Linked DNA regions of Homo sapiens: region 1 is linked to region 2. The links are contacts of gene promoters, found by promoter capture Hi-C in blood cells and fetal thymus (Javierre and others, 2016). All regions are on one chromosome and are shown on one strand. Each heading gives the region's core, a stretch centred on a gene start or on the middle of the fragment in contact. The rest is flanking DNA. Distances are from core to core; before and after follow the strand shown. Region 1 overlaps NT5C1B-RDH14 (NT5C1B-RDH14 readthrough). Region 2 holds the start of HS1BP3 (HCLS1 binding protein 3).

Region 1 (4,774 bases), core at 1,241-3,740, 2.1 Mb after region 2:
AATAAATGAGAAAAAAGAGCTGTTGAATGAAAGATCATGAACATCAGTATTTATCTGAGGAACATCCTGCGGAGGAATCCCTTTCCCCATTTATTAAACACAAAATTGCCAGTGTTTCAAGTAGTTCTCTGATCGATAGACCAACAACTGAAATTAAATGCTTTTAGTCTCAAGTGCCCATTTTTATTAAAATGTAATTATCATGAACAGAAAAAGCAATACAAGGCGTGTGTTCTTAATAATTCTGCCATTCTCTTTTTGACATTTAAAGGAAGAGCCTAGGCTGGATGTCTTGATCAATAACGCAGGGATCTTCCAGTGCCCTTACATGAAGACTGAAGATGGGTTTGAGATGCAGTTCGGAGTGAACCATCTGGGGCACTTTCTACTCACCAATCTTCTCCTTGGACTCCTCAAAAGTTCAGCTCCCAGCAGGATTGTGGTAGTTTCTTCCAAACTTTATAAATACGGAGACATCAATTTTGATGACTTGAACAGTGAACAAAGCTATAATAAAAGCTTTTGTTATAGCCGGAGCAAACTGGCTAACATTCTTTTTACCAGGGAACTAGCCCGCCGCTTAGAAGGCACAAATGTCACCGTCAATGTGTTGCATCCTGGTATTGTACGGACAAATCTGGGGAGGCACATACACATTCCACTGTTGGTCAAACCACTCTTCAATTTGGTGTCATGGGCTTTTTTCAAAACTCCAGTAGAAGGTGCCCAGACTTCCATTTATTTGGCCTCTTCACCTGAGGTAGAAGGAGTGTCAGGAAGATACTTTGGGGATTGTAAAGAGGAAGAACTGTTGCCCAAAGCTATGGATGAATCTGTTGCAAGAAAACTCTGGGATATCAGTGAAGTGATGGTTGGCCTGCTAAAATAGGAACAAGGAGTAAAAGAGCTGTTTATAAAACTGCATATCAGTTATATCTGTGATCAGGAATGGTGTGGATTGAGAACTTGTTACTTGAAGAAAAAGAATTTTGATATTGGAATAGCCTGCTAAGAGGTACATGTGGGTATTTTGGAGTTACTGAAAAATTATTTTTGGGATAAGAGAATTTCAGCAAAGATGTTTTAAATATATATAGTAAGTATAATGAATAATAAGTACAATGAAAAATACAATTATATTGTAAAATTATAACTGGGCAAGCATGGATGACATATTAATATTTGTCAGAATTAAGTGACTCAAAGTGCTATCGAGAGGTTTTTCAAGTATCTTTGAGTTTCATGGCCAAAGTGTTAACTAGTTTTACTACAATGTTTGGTGTTTGTGTGGAAATTATCTGCCTGGTGTGTGCACACAAGTCTTACTTGGAATAAATTTACTGGTACAAATTCTTAACTGTGCATTTCTTTGGAGGCTTCACTGAATACAGTCCTTTATCATGTCACCATTAGCCTATGCTGATCTTGGTCTGCCCAGTCTCTTCTTGCCACGTATCTTGTACACTGCTCTGAGAGATAATATTCCTAAAACCCAAATCTATCACATTCCTGCTTAAAAAACAGTGGGTTTTGAGCCTTAAAAAAAAAAAAATTTGGCAGAATTCTTTCTTCAAAAGCGGTGTTTCACTGAAACGTAGAAGCTGGAGGGGGTAAAGCAGGTTATCGCAATGCTGCCAAGGTGGAGTCCCCCACGGCAATTCCTAAAGGGATTTCATAGAATATAGTGGTTTATAAACCACTTTTATTTAGACTAAAGATTAAACTGTTGAAGATAGAGTTGAGGCTCCATGAGACAGCACCATGCTTACCCTATACTCTCATACTCAGCACTGTTCAGTAGAACTTTGCAGTGAGGAAAGGAATACTCTGTGTTGTCTGATGTGATGGACTCTAGAAACATGGGATTATTAAGTACTTCAAATTCAACTGAGAACTGAATTTCTAATTATATGTAATGTTAATTTAAATAGGCACATGTCTAGCAACTGGTATCTTGGACAGTACATCTCTGGTCATCCCATCAGATAATCCAGTCCTGATTTTAGAACAGTCACCTACTCACTTGCTTTGGGCCTTTCTTTATATTGTTCTTTCAGTCTGGAATGCCATCTCCTTTTTCCTTGGAAATACGACTTACCCTTCAGGTTCCTTTCAAATGTGTTCCTTTCTCCAGCCCCCGTAGGCAGAGACAATTCTCTCTTCCTACTTTTTTTTTCCCCCTTGATCTTGGTACTTTTACTAGGAGTTTAGTGCACTAATTATTCATTCACAGGTTCAGTCAGATAATCAGAATAGAAATTCTCTAAGGAAAGGAGATTTATTTTATTATTAGCTTTCCTCCATCAAGAATCAAGTATAGTGCCCAGCACACAGTAAAAAATCAGTAAATAATGGTATGCATAAGAATAATTGAGCCCAAATAGGAATATTGCAGGCATCTGTGTTACAACATCAAAAGTATCTACTTAATTTTAATTATTTGTTTCACTATCTCATATCGGAAAAAGGAATTATAACACTAAAGTATAGACAGTTACACTGAATTTAATGACTATTTAGCCCAGGGATAATTCTTGGTTATTATTTTTAAGACCATTTATAATATCAGCTTATGAGTATCGGTTATTTTCAAGAATGGCAGGATCTTGGCATATCATGCAGAAGGTCTGTTTTCTGTTAGAGCATTGCCTTGTGAATTGGAGAAACAGTGTATCATCACAGGTGTGTCTCTGCAGGTGTAGTGGATATAGCTGCATCATATTCTTTGAAACATTGTATTTTTAAAAAGTAATCCTACAAAGAGACCTGCTGAACTTAGAAATATAGGCAGGAAATACACCAGAATGCAACTTGGAAAAATGGAAGCTAATAAATCTGTCCTACACCTCGACTTCATTAAAAGGGAGCCCCTTTTTTTCATTTAATACCATCTTTTCTGGCTGCATTTTGATACTTGATGCTTTTCAGGGGATTTGGACCTTTTGTAAGAGTTGAGCCTTTCAGAGTTCTTTTGTTTGTGGCACCATAATAAAATAGGATATATTAACTTATCATGATAGAAAGCTAGAAACTTACCTGGAAACACCAACTATTAAGGTAAAATGAGCTGCCATTTGGAAGATGTCCTTCGCACCACTGTGTTTGATGGAATTGAGGACTAAGAGCTCCAAAATGATGAGGTAGATTTTGAAGAAGTCCTTAACTTCCCCTCCTTCTTTCTCCCTTTTGCTGACTCACTTTAATCCATTTTACTGGGCAAAGAAATAAGTAAAAGGCAGTCCTGTTATTTTGGTATTGTTCTCACCCTCAGCAGTATATCAGAGGGGAAACTGTAATGTGCCAGATCATGGAAGAAATGAGTTGAAAGCCCATTTTCCATGCTGGTTCTCAGCTTCATTTTTTTTGAAAAATTGACTCGTGTTTCAAGCAGCTTATTCTGAGAAGGGTTGAGGTTGCTGGCCTTCTGTTTCAACTTTGCTCAGAGTAACTATTTTATATAGTGGGGTTCTAAGTAGGATTTAATTGGACAAGGGGCTTCACAGCTTAAACACACCACCACATTGGGTTTGACTAACAGCTCTACTGTGTAATGCTTCCTGTAACCTTGGCAAGTTACTTAACCTTTCCGAGCTATTATTTTTTTTGGCTCTATATTGAAATATAAGTGTCTACTTTAAAGGATTACTCAGTGAATGAAAGAGACAGACTAGGTAAAATGTTTAGCAAAGTGTCTGGCACATACAGGCACACATCCATTTCTCCTTCCACAATGCACATAATCATTACTATCCATTAGCAGTAATAGTAATTAGCGATGCTAATGGTTAGGCAAGTACATATCATGGAAACAAAACTCTAAACCAAGGGGCAGCAAACTTCATCTAAAAGGCCAGATTTCTTTTTATAATCTTTCAAAAATGTAAAGACCATTTGTAGCCAGTACATACCATACTATTGTACTTAAATGACTGGTACAGTCTTCCAGGCCCAATGTACTCACTTACTTGTTTACCTTTAAGACACCTTGTTTGAGAGTAGTTGTCGTATATGCTGTGACTCCTATTACTCTATAAGGCTGCTGTTGTTTTTCCATATTATTTCTAATGTTGTGGACAACTATTTGCTTGCAGACCAGGAAGCCTAAAGGGTATATTTTAAAAGTCTGTCTCCAGCTATAGATTCTGGTGTGAGGAAGAGCAGTTATCTGCCTTCAACTCCCTCCCCCTGACAAACTTGCTGGGCCTGGCCAGAGATCTGAGGGACTCTGTATTTGAATATTTAATTGATTCCAAATGTCCTATGGAACACTGAAGAGAGAACATGTTACTAATCACCCTTCAGGAGCTTGGCCCCCACAGACAGGTTCAGATGTTCCACAAGCCTTCTCTGGGCGATGGGGAGTTAAATTAGTTACAGGCTAACATGGAGAAAGGTAGTTTATTCCTAGAGGAAACTAAGACGGAATGCTTAGTTTTATGCAGACAGTAAGGAAAAGCTTTTGCTAAGCCAGATGTGTAATCAAAGTGCAGTGGAAGCACTTTTAAGCAACTACCATCTAAGAGATTTGCTGTAATAACTGATTCTCCATTCTTTTTTTCTAAAAAAAAAAAAAAAAACTAATGCACATAGCATGTGAAACTCTAGGCTGATAGGCTTTCTTCTAGCACACAACAGCCCTTCTGCTTCCTCTTGTTCTATTATATACTTAAGAGTGAGTTGTGTACCATTTGTTATTCACTTAGCAAATATTTATTGAGTACCTATTATGTAACCGGGCATTATTCTAGTTCTGGGCATGCAGGAGGCAACAAAG
Region 2 (4,469 bases), core at 1,536-4,035:
GGGAAACGTTGGTGCATGGCTCAGCCAGAGTTCAGAGCACCCCCTGCAGGCTGCGGGTGTCTCTCAGTGACCACAGTGTCCTGAGGCCCAGTGACTTCCTGGGTGGAAACTGAGGCCTGGAGTGTTCCTCCCAGGGCAGTGAGAAAGAGAGAAATAGAAAATCCTTTGCAATGTGGTTTGTGTTACCGCAGCTTCAGCCATGGAAGGGGCTCCTTGAATTAAACAGGAAGCAGAAAATATCAGATTTAGATCCCACATTCCATGCATTGTATACAATTACGCGCTGGAGCCATAGAGGGGCACGTGGGACCCACAGAGGCAGAAAATGGGATTGCTGTTGGGAATGGGGTCGTTCTTTCATGGGAAACCAGTTGCATTCTTGACAGGTGGGCCGAGTCTTCCTGAGGTGCACACTTCACAACCCCAGGGGCACAGGTGAGGCCCTCTCATTTGCTTACAAGGCATTGGTGACAGACATGCTACCAGCTCCCACAATGATGGAGAGTCCCCTTCTCTGCAGCCCCCCAACACCGCTGCATATCTCTGGATTGTAGACCATCCTTGGTGGGCTCACCCCAACTCTCAGGCTCAACAGCCTCCTTTTTACCCATGACTCCTATGTCAGTCTCCAGCCCAGGTCGGCTTCCTGAGGCCCAGGGCCATAAACCCAATCGCATCAATAGGTCCAGCCCTTCAAACACTGCCTGTCTGAAACAGAACCCATCATCCTACCAAAAATATGCTCCTTCTCCAGGTGCCCTGCCACAGAGAATGATACCAATGTCCAGCCACTCACAAGAGCCAAACCATAGTGGTATCTTATCTCTTCCCGCCCACACCCATTGGATTCCCAAGTCTTGACCAACTCCTTCTCCTAAGGCCCTCTTACCCGTCCCCTCTTCTCCACCTGGGTGGCCATCACCCTAGTTCATGGGACCATTGTCTCTTGTCTGGATTGTTCTGCAGTCCAGCTCATCTTCATACCTTCAACATGCTCCAAAACCCTGCCCACGCCCTAGCTGGCCCAGCCACTCCTATGTCCCTGACCCTCTGATGGCGCTGTGTTGGCCTCAGGATCAGGCAAAGCCCTGGCCTTGGTGCACTAGGCTGTCCACACCCTGGCTCCTGCTGGCCTCTTCCCCCTGTTCCCTGGTGTTCCTATCCTGTCGCTAGGGCTTTGCACGTGACATTCCTTCTAATCTATTCTATCCATATTTCTTCAGGTTTTCCCTTGGACTTCAGCTCCTTTAGAAAGCCTTTCCAGACCCCCACCCACTCCCCATGTAGGAGGGCAAAGAAGTCCACTGAAGGCATCTAAAGTGTCTTATTCACTGTGTTTCTGTCTGTTGGATAAATGTGAGTGCAATGGTGACTGCTCGACTGCCTGGCACTACACTCAGACTCCTGGAATGCTGAAGCCTATACTGCTTTCTGTCCAGACCCTGAACTCCCTTTCTCTAAAGTAGGGCATGCCAATTTAAACAAAACACGGAGGACCATTTGCAGCCATGAACACGGCCCTGCAGACGGACAGGCCGATGAGCAGCAGAGCAGACAGGGGTTCCCGCCATCATCCCAGCTCTTCACTGCAGCCTTCAAGGGTCTCCCTCAGAACTTTCATTCATTGTCATACTTCATTCATGATTGCTCATCTTGCCTATAAACAAATCTGAGACAAATAATAAGGCATATCAATGTCCGTATTTATTCAAGAGATACATTGGGGAAAGTCATTTTTCAAAATCTTTTACTGTAGGATTTCTTCACTAAAATCTGTAAAAACTGGTAGATATTGTTGGTGATGCTGGTGGCGGTGGTTGATAGGCTCAGGAAACATGGCTGACATCGCCCTGCCGTGAATTCTGGTATAGTTAAGCCCAGCTTCTCTTTCTTTTTGTCACTGGGGCTCTGGGTGGAGGGAGTAACAGAACAGGGGCAGCAGTTTGCACCTTCTGCTGGCCCTGTTTGCAGACTCAGCTTTTCTTTCCCTGGGCTACGTTGGCAGGTGATACGATCTCTCTGTTCCTCACCCCATGGAGAGGTGAATCTAAAATGAGTGGGTCTGTTAGGGTCTGCATGTCTGTACGTTCCCCTTCTGAGGGGAACTGGCTCCTGGACCCCGTTGCCCTGCTCCAGCTGGGGACCCAAGTGCAGCCATCCCAGGCAGGCCCGGCCCCGGGAGGCCTCCACCAGGGCTCTGCCAAGCAGCAGAGGCTGCCTCTCTAAAGATCCCCTGTCGGGAGAGTGCCTGCCATTTATGGAGCGGGCAGGCAGTAGGAACCAGATAGGCGAGCTAGCTGGAGGCAGCAAGCTCAAGGGGACTGGGCTGCTGCGTGGCGTTCACTGTGCAGCTTGAAGAAGACCCCACGAAGCCTGGACAGAGCCCCAGCTTGGTAAATATTTGTTGACCGATCGGTTGAATGAAATGGTCTTGGGGCAGAGGGGGAGTGGTTTTGTAATGGGGACTGGCGGCGGAAACAGCAGAGTCCCGTCTCTCTAACGGCTAAACTTTAGCGCAAAACAGACACACCGATTAAGGTTCACCGTGTGCCAGGGCCAGGCTGGGCTTCTTCTAGGTGGTTGCGGCGGGCGCGGCTCAGCCTGGGTGCTCCGGAAGCTCCGAGCAGCGCAGGCCGACGGCGACCGTGCGGGACCCGCCCAGCCGCGCTTCCGCCCCGCCTCTGGCCACAGGCGCGAACTGCGCGGCCGCTGCCACCAGGGGGCAGGCCAGGGCAGCGGGAGGCAGGGCGGGGACGCGGTGACGCGGGCACTGCCGGGTCCCGTGACTGCGCGCCCCGCCCGGAGTCCCCGCCGCCGTCATGCAGTCCCCGGCGGTGCTCGTCACCTCCAGGTGAGCCAGACCCCCGCGCCCCACACCGCACAGCTCGCAGTCCGGGGCGCCCGGGCGGAGAGGCGGGGGGAGGCCGCCGCCTCCTAGGCCAGGGACCTGGTGCAGGTCTCCCCAGCGCCCTCGGTGGCTTATCCGGGCTGGGCCCCTGCACCGCCCTGCAGGAGAGGTGGCGACCCCGATTTACAGATGAGGAAACCGAGGCCCTCTGGAGGGTAGAGAACTAGCCAAGGACAGCGGGAGCCCTGGGACTGACTGGTTCAGTGCAGGCGGGCGCAGTGGGGACTCTGCTCTCCTTTCCTACCGCCTTGGGTTCTTCTCTTTTGAGCCCGAAAATCTAGTTCCCCATCCTTTCAGAGCTCCCTGAGTCCCAGGCCCGGTGCTGGGCACTGGGGACAGAGGCGAATCAGACAAGCTCGCCCTGCAGGGGGCTGCAGCGGAGAGGGGGTGATGCCAGCAGCGGGTAGTAAGCTCAGGTTGCCATGGGAACACAGTACAGGGCAGGAACCCGGTTTCTGGGAGGATGAGTTTGATGAGAGACCAGGGAGAGGTCGTTGCTGCTTGCGAGGCAGCTCAGGAGAGCGCAAGTTACAGCAAAAGCCTTGGAGGGGTCCAGGCGGAGGATGCAGAATGGGTCGGCCCTGATCGAGACCTGGAGGACCCAGCCCAAGGTGGATCCTGGCAAGGCTGGGAGGCACGTGCTTTTACTTCTTTCCGCCTTTAAAACGCTGTAAAGTGATTTACTTCAAATATTTTCATACACTTCACCCTTGCTCTCCCTACACAAAGTCTTAGGCTAAGATGCCAATTTATGACATAAATGAACGTGTTACCCAGCCAACTGTTGATCTTCCAGTTGTAATCAGGAATTCCCCGTGACTTCAGGTCTAGAAAGGTATGATTCCTTTTGTAAACCCTGATGTCGGAGGCTGCTTGGTCTTTCATGATCAAGTGTGGTTACAGTTGTATCTTCATGGGCAGAAGAGGTTTCCCTACTGCCACTTACGTCACCTCCTCTCACCAAGCCTCAGTTTCCTTTTCTGTGAATTGGAGGTTTCAGATTGGCAGGCATGAGCAACGTCAGTAGTATATGCCCCTCAGCCATGTGCAGATGGATGGGGTGTGACTTTGGTGCTGGGTGCTTGGGATGGGGTGGGTGGCTTCCCTCCCTGCCCCGCTGCACAGCCTGGACGTGGCTTGTTAACAGATGTGGGGGCGCTGGCGGTGGTAAGGCCACATGAGTCAGGCTCATTTCTTGCTGAGGGCACCAGCACACCCAAGGATCTTGCCTGCAGGGTGAGTCCAAACGCCTTAGCCCAGCAGCAAGGCCGGCCCTTCCCAGTCGCACCCCAGCTCCTCTTTCCAGCCCGATCTCCTCCCACATGTCATTGCCACATGCACTCAAGCTTGAATTCAGCCAGAAGGTGTTTATCGAGAGCCTTCTCTGTACCGGGTACTGGCCCTAGTTCTAGGAGACAAACAAGTCCCTCTCGTAGAGCTTTAATGAGGGCACAGGCCCAGTGGGCAAATCTACGACATGTCAGGGATGATACATGCTATGAAGGAAAACAAAACAGTGGGGGCAACAGAGTGGTAGGAGGCATGCATGCTGTTTTCTATG

What was found. Contacts are between HindIII fragments. The CHiCAGO score rates a contact against its expected background, and 5 or more counts as called.
Region 1: a fragment that was not itself captured here is called in contact with the fragment with the promoter of HS1BP3 in region 2 in 1 of 17 cell types (naive CD4 T cells); the score reaches 7.8 in naive CD4 T cells.

Annotation. Positions count from the first base shown.
Region 1 is chr2:18,551,306-18,556,079 of GRCh38, reverse strand. NT5C1B-RDH14 (NT5C1B-RDH14 readthrough) reads left to right here. Exons shown (of 11, transcript NM_001199104.2): 11 at 272-1,357. The coding sequence ends at 296. RDH14 (retinol dehydrogenase 14) reads left to right here. Exons shown (of 2, transcript NM_020905.4): 2 at 272-1,357. The coding sequence ends at 889. Among named protein-coding and RNA genes, the nearest start is that of RDH14, 7.0 kb to the left of the region's middle. The HindIII fragment of the contact is 3,937 bases long and covers 522-4,458 here.
Region 2 is chr2:20,649,414-20,653,882 of GRCh38, reverse strand. It overlaps HS1BP3 (HCLS1 binding protein 3), which reads left to right and starts at 2,785. Exons shown (of 7, transcript NM_022460.4): 1 at 2,785-2,851. The coding sequence starts at 2,820. LOC105373466 (a long non-coding RNA gene) reads right to left here and starts at 2,601. Exons shown (of 2, transcript XR_001739320.2): 1 at 2,531-2,601; 2 at 1,683-1,908. RefSeq lists enhancers at 2,367-3,104, 3,189-3,338, 3,359-3,438 and a silencer at 2,519-3,108. The HindIII fragment of the contact is 7,312 bases long and covers 1-4,256 here.